Regions from separate parts of the Homo sapiens genome. Here region 1 is linked to region 2. Evidence: promoter capture Hi-C in human tissues and cell types (Jung and others, 2019). All regions are on one chromosome and are shown on one strand. The core of a region is centred on a gene start or on the middle of the fragment in contact, and the rest is flanking DNA. Distances in the headings are between cores, read along the strand shown. Region 1 has its middle 26 kb from the start of FAM20B. Region 2 holds the start of SOAT1 (sterol O-acyltransferase 1).

Evidence for each region. Contacts are between HindIII fragments. The study calls those that stand out against the background at their distance.
Region 1: a contact is called between a fragment that was not itself captured here and the fragment with the promoter of SOAT1 in region 2, in 1 of the 25 tissues and cell types used here (liver).

What each region holds. Positions count from the first base shown.
Region 1 is chr1:178,997,785-179,002,292 of GRCh38, forward strand. No RefSeq gene overlaps it. Among named protein-coding and RNA genes, the nearest start is that of FAM20B, 26 kb to the right of the region's middle. The HindIII fragment of the contact is 5,572 bases long and covers 1-4,508 here.
Region 2 is chr1:179,291,286-179,295,887 of GRCh38, forward strand. SOAT1 (sterol O-acyltransferase 1) reads left to right here and starts at 2,512. Exons shown (of 16, transcript NM_003101.6): 1 at 2,512-2,651. RefSeq lists a silencer at 2,307-2,496 and an enhancer at 2,709-3,216. The HindIII fragment of the contact is 6,238 bases long and covers 1,422-4,602 here.

The DNA.
Region 1 (4,508 bases), core at 1,516-4,015, 290 kb before region 2:
CAGGCACTGTGATGCATGCCTATAGTCCCAGCTACTTGAGAAGCTGAGGCAGGAGGATTGCTTGAGCTCAGGAGTTCAAGGTCAGCCTGGGCAATATAACAAGGCTGTCTCTAAAAAAACAAACAAGCAAAACTAACAACAAAAAATCACACTGATAACATCAAAAATAACTGATCACAGATCACCATAACAGATAAAACAATAATAAAAAAGTTAGAAATATTGCAAGAATTACCAAAATGTCACACAGAGACACAAAGTGAGCACATGGCACCAATAGATTTGCTCAATGCAGGTTTACCACAAACCCTCAATTTGAAACCAATGCGATATTTCTGCAAAGTGCCATAATACAAGGTATGCCTGTATTGAATAATGCAATGTTCAAATCTTCTAGCAAAGTGAACAGAACTACACAGAATCATGCTTTGAAATTGCCAATTTAGGAAATTATATTTGTTTTCAAAACTTGTTATTTCTTGGAACTCCACTCATAGGATTTGTTAAAAGTGTGTATAAAAAATACATAAACCTATTAATATTATTTTATTTGCAACAATAACTCATAGAACCAAGTAGAGCCACAAACATGCCCTCATAATATTGCAACAGCTATACACAAGCGAGATTATGTGATGACCACGTCTCTCCTATGCATTCCTGTGCCCATTCCCAACAATGTCCACCTTAACCTTCAATTTGGAGTTGTCAGCATTTTCCTGCTCCAAATTTTGACTTGAAGTCAATGGAGTCCTTCAAATCGGAAATTTCCCTATGTTGATTAAGCTTCAGTGCTCATAGAACTATCATACTTTTGCCTGTTTTATCAAATTCATTTTTCTCAGGTTTTGGGATTTGAAAAAAATATATGATTTCCCAAAAAAAAATGCCCAGAAGAAATCCCTGCATGAAAACACTAGGCCATGATCTTTGCCTGATTGCTAAAGGAAGAATCTTGTTAAACGAAATAATATCATAAATGAGAACGTGCATGGGGGTAGTGAAAGCAATGGGTTAGGCCCTGGTTGCTGCCTGTTAGAAGAGCCCTGGCCCTCACACACCCACAGCCCAGGCACGATGTGATGTAACCCTTTATTATTTCCCAGGACATCTCAGATCTGTTTTCCTCTGAAATATTAGGACTCACATCAGCCCTTTGGTCACAGTTAACAGTGCATCATTTACATCTATGTGTGACTTTGTCACTCTGTGGCACCCAAGTAGAAAGAAGAAGGTAAAGGCACATTAGAAGAATCCATTCTATTCCCTTTCTGCTGTCCTAGCTGTCAAATCAGCAGAAAGCTTAGACAGACCGTATGTTTACTGGAAGGGAGGGTAGAGCCCCAGAGAGGCTTCGGACTGAGACCTGTTCTGCCTTCTGTCTGGAAAGGGAAGAAATTCCTCCACCAGAAGCAACAAGAGTTGGGAAGCAGAGATCAAAGAAAGCAGGCAATTTCTGCAGGAAGGGGGAAGGGAAAAAGGGAGGGAAGAGTGATGGGTCCCAGGCGGGGGCGGATTTAGCATGAAACTAATGAAGCTTCAGCCTCAGCACCCCTCGCTTGCAAGGACCCTTCCAAGTTCCTGGGTGAGGCCCCTAGAAATTGGTTTAAAATTTGCAAAATTTGGAAAAGTGAGATATATTAACAACAATCAAGACTACAGCCATGTGTGGTAGCACTTGCCTGTAGTGCCACCTACTCAGAAGGCTAAGGCTGGGGGATCACCTGAGGCCACGAGTTCAAGATCAGCCTGGACAACCTAGTGAGCCTTCCGTCTCTAAAAAAATAAAAATAAAAAATTAAGACTACAGGCTGGGCATGGTGGCTCACACCTGTAAGTAATCCCAGCACTTTGGGAGGCCGAGGCGGGCGGATCACCTGAGGTCAGGAGTTCGAGACCAGCCTGGCCAACATGGTGAAACGCTGTCTCTACTAAAACTACAAAAATTAGCTGGGGGTGGTGGTGGGCACCTGTAATCCCAGCTACTTGGGAGGCTGAGGCAGGAGAATTGCTTGAACATGGAAGGCAGAGGTTGCAATGAGCTGAGATCAAGCCACTGTACTCAAGCCTGGATGACAGAGCAAGACTCGTCTCAAAAAAAAAAAAAAAAAAATTAAGAATTAAGACTACAGTCTTTTCCCTCCCTGACATCCCTCAGTCACACTTCCTTTCTTGTTGGGTGGTATTTGGAGTGGCTGTGGGCATTTTTAATCTCTATCTAAGGAGAAATTGAGTTGAGAGTATGTTCACTTATGTGATTTGCAGTCACTTTCAAGTATAGTTTCTAGCAGCCCCTCCCTCAGTCAAGGAATGGCTTCTAGGGGCATCTCCATTGTCTACTGTATTGACTTAATACCAAAGGTCCTATCCAAATATAAATGTGACTTTCAATACCTGGCACCGGAAGTAGGTGGGAAGTGGAACAGAAAGAATGTTGAAAACATATGGAGTCAGAAGCTAGTTTGTAGAAAATTCTTTCAGCTATGGTAAATGTAAAAGGCAGGGTTCGCTTTTCACTGATGTCTAGTCAACATTTTCTTCTTCCAGGATATTCCCCCTTGCTGTGACTATTTTTTTTTTTCTTTTTTGAGATGGAGTCTCCCTCTGCTGCCAGGCTGGAGTGCAGTGATGCAATCTCGGCTCACTGCAACCTCTGCCTCTTGAGTTCAAGCAGTTATACTGCCTCAGCCTCCTGAGTAGCTAGGACTACAAGCGCCCGCCACCATGCCCAGCTAATTTTTGTATTTTTAGTAGAGACGGAGTTTCACCATGTTGGCCAGGATGGTCTTGATCTCTTGACCTCGTGATCTGCCCTCCTTGGCCTCCCAAAATGCTGGGATTACAGGCGTGAGCCACCGTGCCCGGCCTTTTTTTCTTTCTTTCTTTCTTCCTTTTTTTTTTTTTCTGAGATGGAGTTTCGCTGTTGTTGCCCAGGCTGGAGTGCAACGGTGCAATCTCAGCTCAATGCAACCTCTGCCTCCTGGGTTCAAGCGATTCTCCTGCCTCAGCCTCCTGAGTAGCTGGGATTACAGGCATGCACTACCACGCCTGGATAATTTTTTGTATTTTTAGTAGAGACGGGGTTTTTCCATGTTGGTCAGGCTGGTCTTGAACTCCTGACCTCAGGTGATCCACCCGCCTCGGCCTCCCAAAGTGCTGGGATTACAGGTGTGAGCCACCATGCCTGACCTGTCGTGACTATTCTTAATACTGCTGCGAATACAATTATAAACGCACTGTACATTTATTTATTTGTTGGGATTGAAAAAATAGAATGTATGAAATTCTTGAGTTAACCATAAACCTATAGCAATATTACAGAAATTTTTGATCAACTATGCTGGAAAAAACACTAAATTATCTTTCTATTATTTCTATAGAAAATGGCACTACAAAATTGTTGGCATTTGAAGCGGTCATCAAAGAGTAGGCAGACAGAAGCACATGGAAAAATATTATAGAAGTGTATCAGTTAATAAAAACGTGAATTTTCTGGATTTTGTGATGTTTGTGGTATTTGTCAGCCTTTAAAAATTTATAACTTGATGTCATCTATTTTCTCATTCTAAATATTTACTTTTATATTCAACTTTGTATTTTTTTATTTTGTGTTATTTTTCTTGAAGAGATCTCCAAATTATATAAGCTTCAGACTTCACAAAACTTGATCTGTGCCTGGACTGTGGTGTGGGGCCCAGGGATTTATACCAACAGCCATTCTTGGCCCTCAGCAGCCTCTAGGGTCCCTAGCCCATTCTCCAAAGTCCGCATCCCAGCCCTCATCTCAGGCCCTGAGAGCCATCAACAACATAAGGCTGAGGAACTCTTTGCTTCTCTGGGGAGCAGGAGGGTGGGTGAGCCAGTGAGACATGCATTTGCTGGATTAGACCTCTGGGGACTTTTCCCCCAGCAAAGTCCTGCCTGGCAGGGTGGTTGGCCATTGTGTCAGTACCCACCACCCTCCTGTGAAGGGTGAGCCCCTGGCCCTTGTGGCCTGGGCTGAGGTCTCAACCACCAGCAGCAGTACTTGAGGCTGAGTCTGCTGTAGACTTTAAAAACAGGACTGGTGGCCAGACACAGTGGCTTATGCCTATAATCTCAGCATTTTGGGAGGCCAAGGCAGGAGAATTGCTTGAGCCCAGGAGTTCAAGACCAGCCTGGGCAACATAGGGAAACCTCGCCTCTAGAAAAACTTTTTAAAAGCCAGGCATGGGGCCAGGCGCGGTGGCTCACTCCTGTGATCCCAGCACTTTGGGAGGCCGAGGTGGGAGGATCACTTGAGGTCAGGAGTTTGTGACCAGTCTGGCCACCATGGTGAAGCCCCATATCTACTAAAAATACAAAAATTAGCAGGACGTGGTGGCACATGCCTGTAATCCCAGATACCCGAGAGGCTGAGGCAAGAGAATCGCTTGAACCTGGGAGGCGGAGTTTGCAGTGAGCCAAGAAGGTGCCACTGCACTTCAGCCTGGGCGACAGAGCAAGACCCTATCTCAAAAAATAATTTT
Region 2 (4,602 bases), core at 1,262-3,761:
CAGGTACTAGGGAGGCTGAGGTGGGAAGATGACTTAGCGAGCCTGGGGAGGTAGAGGATGCAGTGAGCCCTGATTGCACCACTGCACTCCAGCCTGGGCGACAGAGTGAGACCCCATCTCAAAACAACAAAAACCCAAACCCTTCATTATCTTGCCTTTGCACTTAACAGATAAATCCAAACAACGTGATTAGGTTCCTGCTTAATGCTCCAAACTCAACTTCAAACCCCTATTTGACATGCTCAAGCCTCCTGGCCTGTTCCTCAAACAGCCACGCTTCAGCATCAGCCACAGTTCAGCATCGGGGCCTTGACACCCATTATCCTCTGTCTAGAATGTTCTTCCTCCCCATGGTTGGCTTGGCTGGCTCCTTCTTGTCATTTAGGTCTTAGCTCCTGAATTATCTCCTCAGAAAATCCTTCCCTGACCATTCTGTTTTGTTTTCTGCTCAGTACTTATCACTGCCAGTGATTATCTCATCTATTCGTTTTATTATTTATATTCTTCATTAGAAACATAAGCTTTTGTTGTTTGAGACAGAGTCCCACTGTGTTGACCAGGCTGCAGTGCAGTGGCATGATTTTTTGGCTCACTGCATCCTCCGTCCCTCACCCCCCATCCCCCACCACAAGCAATCCTCTTATCTCAGCCTCCCGAGTAGCTGGGACCATAGGGGCCTGCCACAATTCCCAGCAAATTTTGTTGTCATTGTTGTTGTTGTTGTTGTTGTTTTTAAATTCTGTAGAGAGGGAGTCTCACTATGTTGCTCAGGCTGGTCTTGGACTCCTGGCCTCAAAGTGATCCTCCTGCCTCAGCCTCCCAAAGTGCTGGGATTATAGGCTTGAGCCACCTGTTTGTTTCCTTTCATACCTAGTCCTGCAGAACATAAGCCTCTAAGTGCAGGGGCTTCTTCTGTTTATTCACCACTGTATTTCTAGCACCAAGAATACTATCAATATTTTTTGAATGAATGAATCAAACAGTGAAAAGGCCAGTCATCTTGGTGTATATAGAAGGTAGCCAACAGAGACCCAATAGAAATGAGTGCCTATGTTCCTACTGCTCTATAACTAGTGGGAGTGGGGAGGGGAAGCAGCTGGGGGTCTACCAGACCCTGTCACCAACTAGTCAGCACACGTGGCAATCACAGTTGTAGAAGAGGCCAAACGGAGCAGATCTGCCAATGACAGCCAGTACTAAACTCGACTGGATGCTGAGGGCCATTTCTGCTTTGAGTGAACAGTGCAGCCTGCTGGGTGGCCAAGGGAACGTGTACAAATCCACTTTGTTTAAAGGACCCAGAGAGTAGTCAGTTCTGCTAAACCTCATCTGTTTGTTCAGGGATTTTTGTCCTGGGGAGGAGTGGGGAAGAAGCGATTAGTCAGGCCAGGCTAGCTGGTATTAGTTTGCAGGCTGTGAGTGCGACTCTTCAGTCTCTGCTCCTCTCATCATTGCCTTTTCACCTACCTTTACCCTAAATTTACGTACACCTCTGCCTTCACAAATTCCAAGCGATTAACTGTTGTATTTAATCTCTGTCCCAAATCTCTCTGCATCATTCTTCTTTTGATTATGAAGTCACGAGGGCCCTTTGTTTATTTTATTTTTAAAACTTTTTTTGAGAAGGAGTTTAGCTCTTATTGCCCAGGCTGGAGTGCAATGGCACAATCTAGGCTCACTGCAACCTCTGGCTTCCGGGTTCAAGCAATCCTCCTGCCTCAGCCTCCCGAATAGCTGGGATTACAGGCGCGCGCCACCAAGCCCGGCTAATTTTTTGTATTTAGTAGAGACGGGGTTTCACCATGTTGGTCAGGCTGGTCTCGATCCTAACCTCAGGTGACCCAGCCACCTCGGTCTCCCAAAGTGTTGGGATTACAGGCGTGAGCCACCGCACCTGGCCTCAAGGGCCCTTAAATATTACTTAGTTGTTCCATTATTTGGTGTGTTTTATTATTTGGTGCAGGTTTTTTCCCCTTATCTAGTTTGAATGTTGCTGAAGGACGCTGGTTTTCAAACGGTAAGGAATCTCCTGATAAAGGCACGAATCTTGGTGTGCAGATAAGCCAGCGATTCTTGCTTCTGGCTAGTTCTACGTTGTTCCTGGATGGTCAGTTCAAACTGCAATGATCCACAGCTCCAGAAGCGGCTTCTTCCAGTCGGCCTAGGAGCCAAACGCCCCTGCAGCTCCATGCTACCACGCAGGGTGCCGTTTCGGGCTTGCAGGGAGTTGTCGCAGTCCCGTTTTGGCTGCACATTCTACTGCTGGGGTGGAAGTGTCAAGCAAGATGTTGTCGCCGGTATCATGATGTCCGGGTGAGAAGCTTCCTTGGCAGGTTGCCAGGGCCAGCCTGCGAGCACTGGCGCCGGGGACCCGCGCGCCCGGGAAGGGGCGGGGAGGTGGGCGGAGCCTGGCAACCTGGGGACCACCAATAGGATGCTCAGCCGGAGGTGGCCCTGCGCGTGACGCAGCGGTGCTCGGAGGCAGGGGGCGTAGGGGCCGGGCTGTCCGGCGCTTTAGCTTAGCAGGCGACGTTGCGGGCCCTGGGCGCCAGGAGAGCTTCCCGGAGTCGACCTTCCTGCTGGCTGCTCTGTGACCGCTTCCCGGCTCTGCCCTCTTGGCCGAAGTGCCCGCTGCCGGGCGCGGGCCTCAGGTAACGGTGGTGCTCCCGCGCCTCTCCTCGCTTCCCGCTTGGGTCCACCGGCCTCAGCCCGCGGGGAAGGGAGAAGCGGTGGCGGCAGCAGCTCCGGCCCGGCCTTGTCCTGGGCTGTGCTGCGGAGAAGGCGAGGCTCGGCGACTGCAGGGGAGTTGGGGAGGGGAGGGCGGGAAAGTTACCGTCAGGCGCCCGGGTCACGGGCAGCCTTTTAAACCCTGCACGCTGGTTTGGTGTTCCGCAAATCTCGTGGCATCTCTCAAGTCAGTAGTAAAGAAAGTTAGGAATTAGAAGACGTTTTATTCTTTAAAAAGCGAAACCAAAAATGCACTCAGGAAGTCAGCTTTTTAATGATTTAGAGAAAATGTGTGAAGGGAAGGATGGTATTAGCAAGACATGAAAATCTGTAGGGGCACCAGAACCTTTAATCAAGCTCATGTTTTATTGTAAAATATTAGGATGTAGGTAAGTTTCTGTTTTCCCTAAGTGTTAATGGTCATGTAATTTAAATAATATGTATATTGAAAGGTTATTTCTAAGTGAGAAACAACTATATAAACTTTATTCTCCGTATATATATTTAGGTTAAGTTCGTTGGTCACTTTTGTTTGTTTGAGACGGAGTCTCGCTGTGTCGCAAGGCTGGAGTGCAGTGGCGCAATCTCGGCTCACTGCAACCTCTGCCTCCCGGGTTCAAGCGATTCTTGTGCCTCAGCCTCCTGAGTAGCTGGGATTACAGGCGTGCGCCACCACGCCCAGGTAATTTTTGTAGTTTTAGTAGAGACGGGGTTTCACCATGTTGGACCAGGTTGGTCTCAAACTCCTGACCTCAAGTGATCCGCCCGCTTCGGCCTCCCAAAGTGCTGGGATTACAGGCGTGAGCCACCGCGCCTGGCCTGTTGGTCACTTTTTAATATTTAAGTGGCTGCCACCTGTTTAAACCACTTTTTTCTTTTTTTCAGCCTGCTTGATTTCCTCTTCCTTGAAGTAGAATTCAATTTGAAGCTTTTTTTTTTTCTTTTTAAAAGTTGGGCGGTGTCAGTGAATGACTTGTTAAGGAAGTCTGTGCGTTGTCTGGGTGTGAGAATGGGTTTTGGAAGGAGCTCTGTGGCACTGAATTATCGTTTAGAAATGCACGTGTTTTAGTGAATCACATGCTTAGAATGCATCTGAGGTTTCGCAGTCTTTTAGGATAAAGACCTACTGAGTGAGCACACTCTATCTCTGGTTCATTTGGCCCACTTTCCTTCTGGCTTTCCAGGTTCATGCCACACTGGCTTTATTTTTGTTACTGGAAAGCTTCATTTTCTTTCCTCTCTTGGCTTTTAGGAGTTTCCTCCACCTCTAATGCTGTATTCTCTCCCTCCCTCCAACTCTTATACCTGCCTCAGATATCAGCCCACATATCACTTCCTCTGGAAATCACCCCATCCCCATTAAGCCCTCCATGAACTCTTTATTCTCCTTAGCAGAAGTTGATCATTAATTGTAATGAATTAGTTGCTTTGTTTCCTCTGCTAGTGCATTTCATGAAGGCTGGTTTAGCCTGTTGTAATTTTCAGGGTCTGGTCCAGCACTTGGCCCAGAGAAAGAATGAATAAGTTGGTGGACAGAGGAAGGAACTTTTGAATGAGAAATACAGTGATCCCCACTTAACTGCTTTCTGTAGTTTCAGCTACCTGAGGTGCGAAACAGAGTACAATAAGACATTTCGAGAGATACCATGTTCAAGTGAATTTTAATACAGTATATTGTTAATCTCTTACTGTGCCTAACTTTTTGAAACTTTGCCTCCCAGGTTCAAGGGATATTCATGCCCCAGCCTCCCAAGTAGCTGGGATTACAGGCGTGTCCCAGTACGCCCGGCTAATTTTTTTTTTTTTTTTTGAGATGGAGTTTGGCGCTTGTTGCCCAGGCTGGAATGGCACGATCTCGGCTCCCCGCAACCTCCG